Regions from separate parts of the Homo sapiens genome. Here region 1 is linked to region 2. The links are contacts of gene promoters, found by promoter capture Hi-C in blood cells and fetal thymus (Javierre and others, 2016). All regions are on one chromosome and are shown on one strand. Each heading gives the region's core, a stretch centred on a gene start or on the middle of the fragment in contact. The rest is flanking DNA. Distances are from core to core; before and after follow the strand shown.

Region 1 (5,103 bases), core at 118-2,617, 220 kb after region 2:
AGTAACTTTGGGGCATATCTTTTAAGGAGTACTCCAACACGACTAGTGGACAGACCCTAAATTAATTGCCAATCAGCTCTGCCTTCTGGTATTTACACCTTTATGTAATAACCTCCACTTGAAGGTAGATGAGATCTGTGACTTGCTTCTAACCAGTGGAATATGGCGGAGGTGGTGGGACGTTACTCCTGTGATTACATTACATCATGTGGCTCCTTTATGATGGAAGATTCATGCTAGAGATTCTCCTTGCTGACTTGACAAAGTATGTAACCATGATGAAGACTTCCACGTGGCAAGGAGCTGTGGGAAGCCCAGGTGCTGAGACTGGCATCCAGCAAACACCCAGCAAGAAACAGACGTCCTTGGTTCTACACATACAGGAAATGAATTCTGCCAACATCCTGAGTAAGGCTGGAACTAGATTCTCCCCAAGTTGAGCCTGACAAGTAAAATACAGACCAGCCAACACCTTGATTGCAGTCTTGTGAGACCTGGGGAAAAGGACACAGCTGAACCGTGTCCATTCTTCTGACCCACAGAAACTGTCACATCATAAAGGTATGTTAGTTGTTACACAGTTTAGAAAACTATTACAGCTGCTCAAGAAGGTTAGCTAGCTCCAGATTTCAATCCATTCACAGGAAAGCAAGCTTTATTCCTAGAAGAATAATTCATGCTTTGCAAAAAGAGGAAAACGTCCTGCAGTTTTAGAAGGTCTTTTCTTTCTCAACACACCCAAATTTCTTTAAAATCCTCAAGAAGTGCATTTGTTTTCATGGTTGACTCGAAGAAGTGAGTATAATTAACTCACAAAAGGTGGGAGGAAGGGACAAATTAAATTTTGGTATGCATACAGGTAGCTTCTTCCAAGTGATAATGAGCAATGTGAAACAAAGAGATTGGCATTAAATGTAATGAAGGACTAGAGGAGTGTACCTAAACCTGAAACAAATTCCAAGAAGTGGCCTTGACCTAAAATGTTTGCATCCTGCCAGAGACCCTTACTTATAAGTCAGGAGATACCTGATGCCCAGGAGAACTGGTTTTTGTACTCTGTCTTACACAGACTAAGAATTAAGAATGCAGGTGAGAAGTTTAGAAAACTTCCTGATGATCATATGAAAAGACATTAAACTTTACCTGGTAAAACTATGAAATGTTGCCTGTAGATTTCTAAGAAAAATGAGTAGGAAGTTGGAAATATTTCAGAATTAAGAATGTTTTTATATAATTAGAACTCTTTAAGCTATGTAATTCTGAAATCTGTGTGACAGACTTCTGTGTAAACATAAAGAACTAGTTATTTTTACAGATTATCTAGTCTGTGTATTCATTTGATGTTTCTATTACTTTTACCCTCACTACAAAGTTCAATGAAGGTTAAAAAAATATTGTTCTTAAAAAAAGAAGAGATAAACCTGGAGTAGCTATTTCAATGTTAGACAAAATGGATTTTAAAACAAAAATGTTAATACAGATAGAAAGGGACATTTTATAATAATAAAAGTATCAAAATATCAGGAAGATACCACAATTATAAACAAATATGCTCCTAAAAATAGAATCTCAAAATACATAAAACAAAAACTGACAAAGTTGAAGGGATAAATAAATAGGCAGCTCAGCAATATTTAGAAACTTCAATACCTCACTTTCAATAATGGATAGAACAACTAGACATAAGATCAACAAGAAAATAGAATATTTTAACAAAGCTATACACCAACTAGGCCTAATGGATATCTATAGAATAATCCACCCAACAACAGAAGTCTTCCTCCTCCTACTTCTCCTCCTCCTCCCCTTCCCCTTCCCCTTCCCCTTCTTCTTCTTCCTTCTTCTCTTTCTCCTTCTCCTTCTTCTTCTTCTTCAACAGGATCTTACTCTGTTGCCCAGGCTAGAGTGCAGTGGTGTGATCATGGCTCACTGCAGCCTCAACTTCCCAGGCTCAGGTGATACATGGGCCTCAGCTTCCCAAAGTGCTGGGATTATAGGCACAAGCCACATGCCTGGCCCACATATTCTTCTTAAGTACACATCAAACATTCTGTAGAATAGACCATATGCTAGGCCACAAAACAAGCTTCGATAATTTAAAAGGACTGAAATTATACACAATCTGTTCCTTGGCCACAAAGAATAAAATTAGAAAGAACTTTTGGAAACTCACAACTATATAGAAATTAACATACCCATAAGTAACCAATTGGTTGAAGAAGAAATCACAAAATAAATGAGAAAATACTTTGAGATGAATGAAAATTAAGACACAACATATAAAAATTTATGCAATATAGCTAAAGCAATGCTTAGAGGGAAATTTATAGCTCCACATACCTACATTAAAAATGGAGAAAGTTACACTGTTGGTGGGACTGTAAATTAGTTCAACCACTGTGGAAGACAATATGGCGATTCCTCAAGGATCTAGAACCAGAAATACCATTTGACCCAGCAATCCCATTACTGGGTATACACCCAAAGGATTATAAATCATTCTACTATAAAGACACATGCATACATATATTTATTGAGGCACTATTTCCAATGGCAAAGACTTGGAACCAACCCAAATGCCCATCAATGATAGACTGGACAAAGAAAATGTGGCACATATACACCATGGAATACTATGCAGCCATAAAAAAGAATGAGTTTATGTCCTTTGCAGGGACATAGATGAAGCTGGAAGCCATCATTCTCAGCAAACTGACACAGGAACAGATAAACAAACACCACATATTCTCACTCATAAGTGGGAGTTGAACAATGAGTACACATGGACACAGGGAGGGGAACATCACACACCGGGGCCTGTCGGAGGGTGGGGGGCAAGTGGAGGGAGAGCATTAGGACAAATACCTCATGCATATGGGGTTTAAAACCTAGATGACAGGTTGATAGGTGCAGCAAACCACCATGGCACATGTATACCTGTGTAACAAACCTGCACATTCTGCACATGTATCCCCAAACTTAGAGTAAAATTTTTTTAAAAAAAGAAAAAACATCTCATATCAATAAGCTAGACTTCTATCTTAAGACGCTAGGGGAAAAGCAGCAAACTAATCCTAAAGCAAGCAGAAGGAAGACAATAATGAAAGTGGAAATTAATGAAATTGAGGACAGAAAAACAATAGAGAATATCACTGAAACCAAAAAGTGGTTCTTGTTTTCTTTCTTTCTCTTTCTTTCTTTCTCTCTCTCTCTCTTTTTCTTTCTTTCTTTCTTTCTTTCTTGTTTCTTTTGAGACAAGGTCTAGCTCTGTCACTCAGGCTGGAGTGCAGTGGTGCAATCACAGCTCACTGCAGCCTCGATCTCCTGGACTTAAGTGATCCTCCTACCTCAGACTCTCGAGTAGCTGGAACCACAGGAGTGCACCACCATGTCCAGCTAATGTTTTCAATTTTTTGTAGAGATGAGGTTTCCCTATGTTGCCCAGGCTGGTCTCAAATTCCTAGGCTCAAGCGATCCTCCTGCCTCAGCCTCTCAAAATGCTGAGCCACCACACCCAGCTGGTTATTTCAAAAGATGAGCAAAAGTGACAAGCTTTTAGCTAAACTGACCAAGAAAAAAAGAATACTTAAATTACCATAATCAGGAAAGAATGAGAGAACATTACTACCAACCTCATAGATACAAAAAGTATAGAGGAATACAACAAGCCAATTGATATGCCAACAAATTAAATTACAAATGAAATGGACAAATTCTTAGAAAGACACAAACTACAAAAACTGACTCAAGTAGAAATAGAAAATCTAAATAGGTATTTAAAAAAGATTATTAAACTGAGAGCTGAAGACAGGGCAGCAAAACTGCAGGGGCCACCACCACCACCACCACATGTCAGGAAGAGTACGGAGAGGCCCTGGAGGGGCATAACGACTGCAGGAATAAATTAGGAGAGCCAAGAGAACCCACAGACCCTCTGAAGGAAGTGGATTGCTCCTGCAGGACCTGGGAGACACCTCAAATACTGTGCTGGTATCTGTGGCTGAGAAACCCACAGATGGTTTGCATCACAGGACTCTGTACAGACAACCCCCAGTACCAGCCTGGAACCTGGTAGACATCCTGGGTGGCTAGATCCAGAAGAGAGATAACAATCACTACAGCTCGGCTCTCAGGAAGCCACATCCCTAGGAAAAGGGGGAGAGTAATACATCAAGGGAACACCCCATGGGACAAAAGAATCTGAACAACAGCCTCGAGCCCTAGGCCTTCCATCTGACAGACACTACACAAATGAGGAGGAACCAGAAACCCAACTCTAGTAATATGACAAAACAAGGTTCCTTAATACCCCCCAAAAAATCACACTAGGTCACCAGCAATGGATGCAAACCAAGAAGAAATCCCTGTTTCACCTGAAAAAGAATTCAGAAGGTTAGTTATTAAGCTAATCAGGAAGGCACCAGTGAAAGGCAAAGTCCAACTTAAGGAAATCAAAAAAATGATACAACAGGTGAAGGGAGAGATTTTCAATGAAATAGATAGCATAAATAAAAAACAATCAAAACTTCAGGAAACAATGGACACAGTTATAGAAATGCAAAAGGCTCTGGAAACTCTCAGCAATAGAATTGAACACGCTGAAGAAAGAACTTCAGAGCTCAAAGACAAGGTTTTAGAATGAACCCAATCCAAAAAAGACAAAGGAAAAATTATAAGAAAATATGAACAAAGCCTCCAATAAGTCTGGGATTATATTAAATGGCCAAACCTAAGAATAATTGGCATTCCTGAGGAAGAAGAGAAATCTAAAAGTTTGGAAAACATATTCGGGGGAATAATCAAGGAAAACTCCCCCAGCCTTGCTAGAGCCCTAGACATCCAAATACAAGAGGCTCAAAGAACACCTGGGAAATTCATTGCAAAAAGATCATTACTTAGACACATTGTCATCAGGTTATCTAAAGTTAAGATGAAGGAAAGAATCTTAAGAGCTGTGAGGCAAAAGCACCAGGTAATCTATAAAGGGAAACCTATCAGATTAACAGCAGATTTCTCAGCCAAAACCCTACAAGCTAGAAGGGATTGGGGCCCTATCTTCAGCCTCCTTAAACAAAACAATTATCAGCCAAGAATTTTGTAGCC
Region 2 (4,551 bases), core at 185-2,684:
CAGCCTCCTGAGTAGGTGAGGTTACAGGTGGCCACCACTACGTCCAGCTAATTTTTTGTATTTTTAGTAGAGACGAGGTTTCACCATGTTGGCCAGGCTGGTCTCGAACTCCTGACCTCGTGATTCACCCACCTCAGCCTCCCAAAGTGCTGGGATTACAGGCGAGCCACCGTGCCTGGCCTGACTTTACGTTTTATTCTATTTAACACTGGTGATATAAAGATTTTTAAGTAGACTTAAATTTTAAAAATAAGTAGATTTAAAATATGAAGGCAATAATATAGCTTCGTATTTTACAAAGCTGGTTATCATTAAAAACTTCTTCACCTTTAGAAACTCCCTGTAGTTAACCACAGGAGACAATAAGGTGTTTAGGAGAAGATAATAATAATATGAGTGCCATAAGCACAGAATCTTAACAGTGGCCCAGCAATTAGTACAATTTAGGAACTACTGGTTTAGCCCATCCCTCTCAATAGAAAACAGATAAGGAAACAGAGACTCAGAATAAGGAAGATATTCTTTTCTAAGATCATACAGCTGGTTATCATTAAGCTCTGTTCTCCTCTGTCCCTCCTCATCTAGGTAATTGCATTCGACAACAAATTCTGCAGTGTTAAAGTGAAGGAAATTGGATATAAAATACCCAACAATTGTGATGTGGGCTTTCAGGAAGGTGATGGTTCAAGAGGCTGGTGTGTACTATAGGGGAGGCATAGACGCAAAGACTTGTTGTATAGCACCTTGTGCTGAAAGCCTAAACTCCTCAATTTCTCAGGGCACCAAGAAAAATCTTTGGGCCTGCCTCAAAGGTTGCAGTGGCAGAGATTCCTCTGGAGTCAAGCAAAAGACGGCTCGAATCCCAGCTTCTCAGCTTGGCAAAAAACCATTTTCCATGTCTCAACTCATCTCTTTATTCATGCTACTCTTTACTATTATCATTCCTATAAAATGTTATAGGAAAAATAATAGCTAACAGTTATGGAGCACTTGGTATCTGCCAAGCACCTCTGATGAATTATCTCACTTAACCCTCAAACTAACACTGGAAGGCAGTTATTATCGTTCCATACGATAGGTGAGGACATCTGCACTCTGAATAGTTAATCGCTTATCTGCATCTATACAACTAAGCAGGTGATAGAATAGGATTCAAACCCAAGTGGCTTCATTCCAGAGTCTGCACTTAACGCTACCGCTATCCTGTGCGACTCAAATGCAGATAAGGGTTGCAAAAGCCTGGCACACTGGGGGTAAGGAATGTCAGTGCTTTTTCCGCCAACGTGGCCGCGCGAGTCAGTTGTAACCCGGCATCCAGAACCTTCTCCGTAGGGGCCTTGCCTGGGACTACAACTCCCAGGATGCCGCAGGCGGAGAAGCTGGCCAATCAGGGGGCGCGGCTTCGCCTTCACCGTCGGCTCCCTGCTCCTGTCAGAACCTCGGTGACGGTTGGCCAGGTGGGTAGTGACGGCTGCTCGGTCTTGAAGGATCCTAATCTGGTTTGGGAGGGTGAAGACCGCTGAAATTTCCAGGCTGCCCGAGGCTCCACCTTCCACCACCCAACGGGTGGGCGGTGGGCCGGGCTGGCCTCGGAGCCTCTCCCTGGGTGTCGGTTGGGCCGAGAAGGGGACGGTTGGCTGGGTGGGCCTGGCGGCTGGTGGCTGTCCGTAGGCCGGGGTCACTCTGAGGGCATTTTACATTACCCTAATCCTGTCCACTTGGCAAGAAACTTAGTAAGCCCCAAAGGTTCATTCCAAATCCTGTCTGGGAGGGCGAGGACTGTGGAAACTTCCAGATGCCTCAGGCTCCATCTTTAGCTGTTGAGCGGGTGGTTGGGCCGCTCATGGCCCCAAAGATCTGGGGGGTCTTCATGGGCAGTTGGGTCGCTGAGGGCCCTAAAGATCTGGGGCTCCTCCCAGGTGTCAGTTGGGCCAAGGAGGAGGCTGGGCTTTCAGAGTAGAACCTGCGGTGCTAACGATGGCTCTGCAGGGCTGCGGGCTGAGGGCCTGGGCGGCGTCCTGTGGCCCGGAGATGGCGCTCTAGTGGTATCAGGCCTTGAGTCAGCGACATCCTGGCTTCTGACCCCCCATTCCTATGGCCCCTACAGTCTGGTCTCCGCTTCCCCACTCCCGGTGAATTGCTGTTGGAGCAGCCTCTCCTTTCTGGGTAGTGGCCTGGCCGAGCTCCCCGGGGAGGGCTTGACCCAGACCTGTCCTGCCTCCAGTCCAGTCCCAGCTACATTGTTGTGTAGCACCCCACTGTGCCCTCACCCCACCCACGCGCTGGGTGCTCGAGGGCCTAGGAGAACCAGAGTGGAGAGAGGCCACTGTCTTGGGCTCTAAAATCATTTAGTTTCTACTTTACTATTTTTAAAAAACTTTTGCCTTGTTTTTGAAGTTCTTTAATTCCACCACTCCACCCCTTGTTAAAATATCATCTTTCTTTTTCCCTGCAACTTGACTCTTGGTTTGGCATGCCCAAGGAAGGCAGCTGACATCCTGGAGAATGGGGTCTTGGGGGTAGATGCAAAGCGCATTTTATTAATGTCTGGGAAACAAAATTAGTTTTTTTACAGTGGCTCTGAAATGAGAGAAATTGCAGAAATTCTCCCTGCTCAGGAAAAGGTAGAGGCAAGGATTGACTTAAAGGTTAGTTTGTTTTCATTATTTTGGACAAGCAGCTTGACCCATGACTGCCCACCTTTCACACTGCTGGAGTTGTGTATGCTAATTGAGATGGAGTTTTTCAAGTCATTTTGAGAGACTGAACAGCTTAAGACTAGTTTCTAGTGAACCACCTCTCTGTATATTTGTATCTGACACAATTGGTTAAATACAGGTACTGTATAACATAGGAATGCGTTGATTTATACATTTCAGTTAACCAAAATTAAAATGTCTGTTACTCTAACTCCCAAAACCAAACCAGCCATTTGCCATACTCTTAGTGGATTATAATTGAATTATCCTCTTAATGAATTAGAATAAAATTCTTTTTTGAGTTTCACTGTGTACTTAAATCATATGTGGGCCCTGTTATTCAAGAATAAGTTAGAAAAAGACATGGACTTACATAAACAAAATTAGAGAAGATCTTAACACAAACGCTAAATTGTAAGGTAGTTTATAAGGGCTGAGGCTTTCTGAAAAGGGGACATCTTCATTTCCATTGTAAGCCCTATCTTGTGGATATGGTTTGATTGAGGAAGGAACCTCATCCTACAAATTCCAGTTGGAGTTTTTAGTTGGAAAAATATTACATAACACATTAATGCCTTTTGATGTTAGAATTCTAACCATTTATAAAGATTTGTTTCATAATTATTTCTGAAATAACAGATTTATAGAAATACTGAAAATGTAAGTATTTTAAAAGTACACATAAATACTGATTTATACATTGTTTCTGTTTTTCTTTTAAAATCAGATGGGTAAGAAGCGTGTTACTGATCATAAGCTAAATGTGGACAAAGTAATTAAAAATATTAACACAATTTCTTCGGAGTTGAAGAAGATAAAAGGTAAGTATTGAATCACTAAAATGTTTGCATGTCATTGTTATAAAATAAATGATAGAGCCAGTTTGTGTTTCTGCTGGGGTATAAGTAAATTTTGCCCACTAATTAGGATTTCTCTATTTCTTAACAAATGTTTTCAGTGTAAGTGAACTAGATCTCTAAAGATGAATTATGTTCGACTTTGGAGTTAGCAGACCTGAATTCCCATCCCTGACATTAATAAGCTTATCAGGTTGTCTAACCTCTGTAAATTTTACTTCCCTTCCTTCCCTTCAACACACCATTCAAGACTATGTCACATTCAGCAAAATTCATTGTCTTTATAAATTCTTACTAAGCCCCTAAGGTCCATTCCAAATTAAAAAGTATAAATTAGATTCTGTGACTTAAAGCTTCTTCATTTTAAACAGATTCATATAGTAGGATTAGACCTTATAGGTCATGATGTTTAGTCGCTCACCTCACAGACATATTCAGTTATTTTATCCCAAGAAAATTTCTGTGATTGAATATTTCTAGGGATAATCTATCCCTGACCAAACATTTCTTATGCTGGGGAACTTCCTGTCTCACTAGTCAATCCATTCTATTTTAAACAATTCCTTCTCACCAGCTAGCTGAAATCTGTTCCCCTATTGCTTTCACCTAAGAGTCCTATTTCTAACCATGAAAACTACACTGAATATGTAGTTATTCTTTTTAAAACAACTCTTGGGTATTTAAAGATAACCTGTGTCAGTTATGAGGCCTACATCTATAAGTAACAAAAAAACCAACTTAACTTATACAATAAGGAAAAACAAGAAGATCCAAGGTAGCAGAGCCCTAAAGTTAATTCAGAGGTTTAAAGATTTTGTCAGGGACCAGGCTCTTTCCATCTTTCTGCTCTGTCATGTTCACTCTCTTTATTACCCCTCATGATCATTACCTTCAGAGGTGCTCATATATAGACAGTCTCTTTTTATAAGTCTCCTCCCAGATCCCTCCAGCACAGTTCCCTTTCATTGGCCAGATTTGCATCACATGCTGATGCT

What was found. The method cuts DNA at HindIII sites, captures the fragments that hold promoters and counts their contacts. A CHiCAGO score of 5 or more calls a contact.
Region 1: a contact is called between a fragment that was not itself captured here and the fragment with the promoter of C5orf58 in region 2, in 1 of 17 cell types (activated CD4 T cells). The highest score is 6.3, in activated CD4 T cells.

The regions. Positions count from the first base shown.
Region 1 is chr5:170,453,486-170,458,588 of GRCh38, forward strand. It overlaps a transcript of KCNIP1 not described here. Among named protein-coding and RNA genes, the nearest start is that of KCNIP1, 48 kb to the right of the region's middle. The HindIII fragment of the contact is 1,433 bases long and covers 652-2,084 here.
Region 2 is chr5:170,231,551-170,236,101 of GRCh38, forward strand. C5orf58 (chromosome 5 open reading frame 58) reads left to right here and starts at 1,435. Exons shown (of 4, transcript NM_001102609.3): 1 at 1,435-1,457; 2 at 2,565-2,648; 3 at 3,427-3,520. The coding sequence starts at 3,427. The HindIII fragment of the contact is 4,262 bases long and covers 1-3,739 here.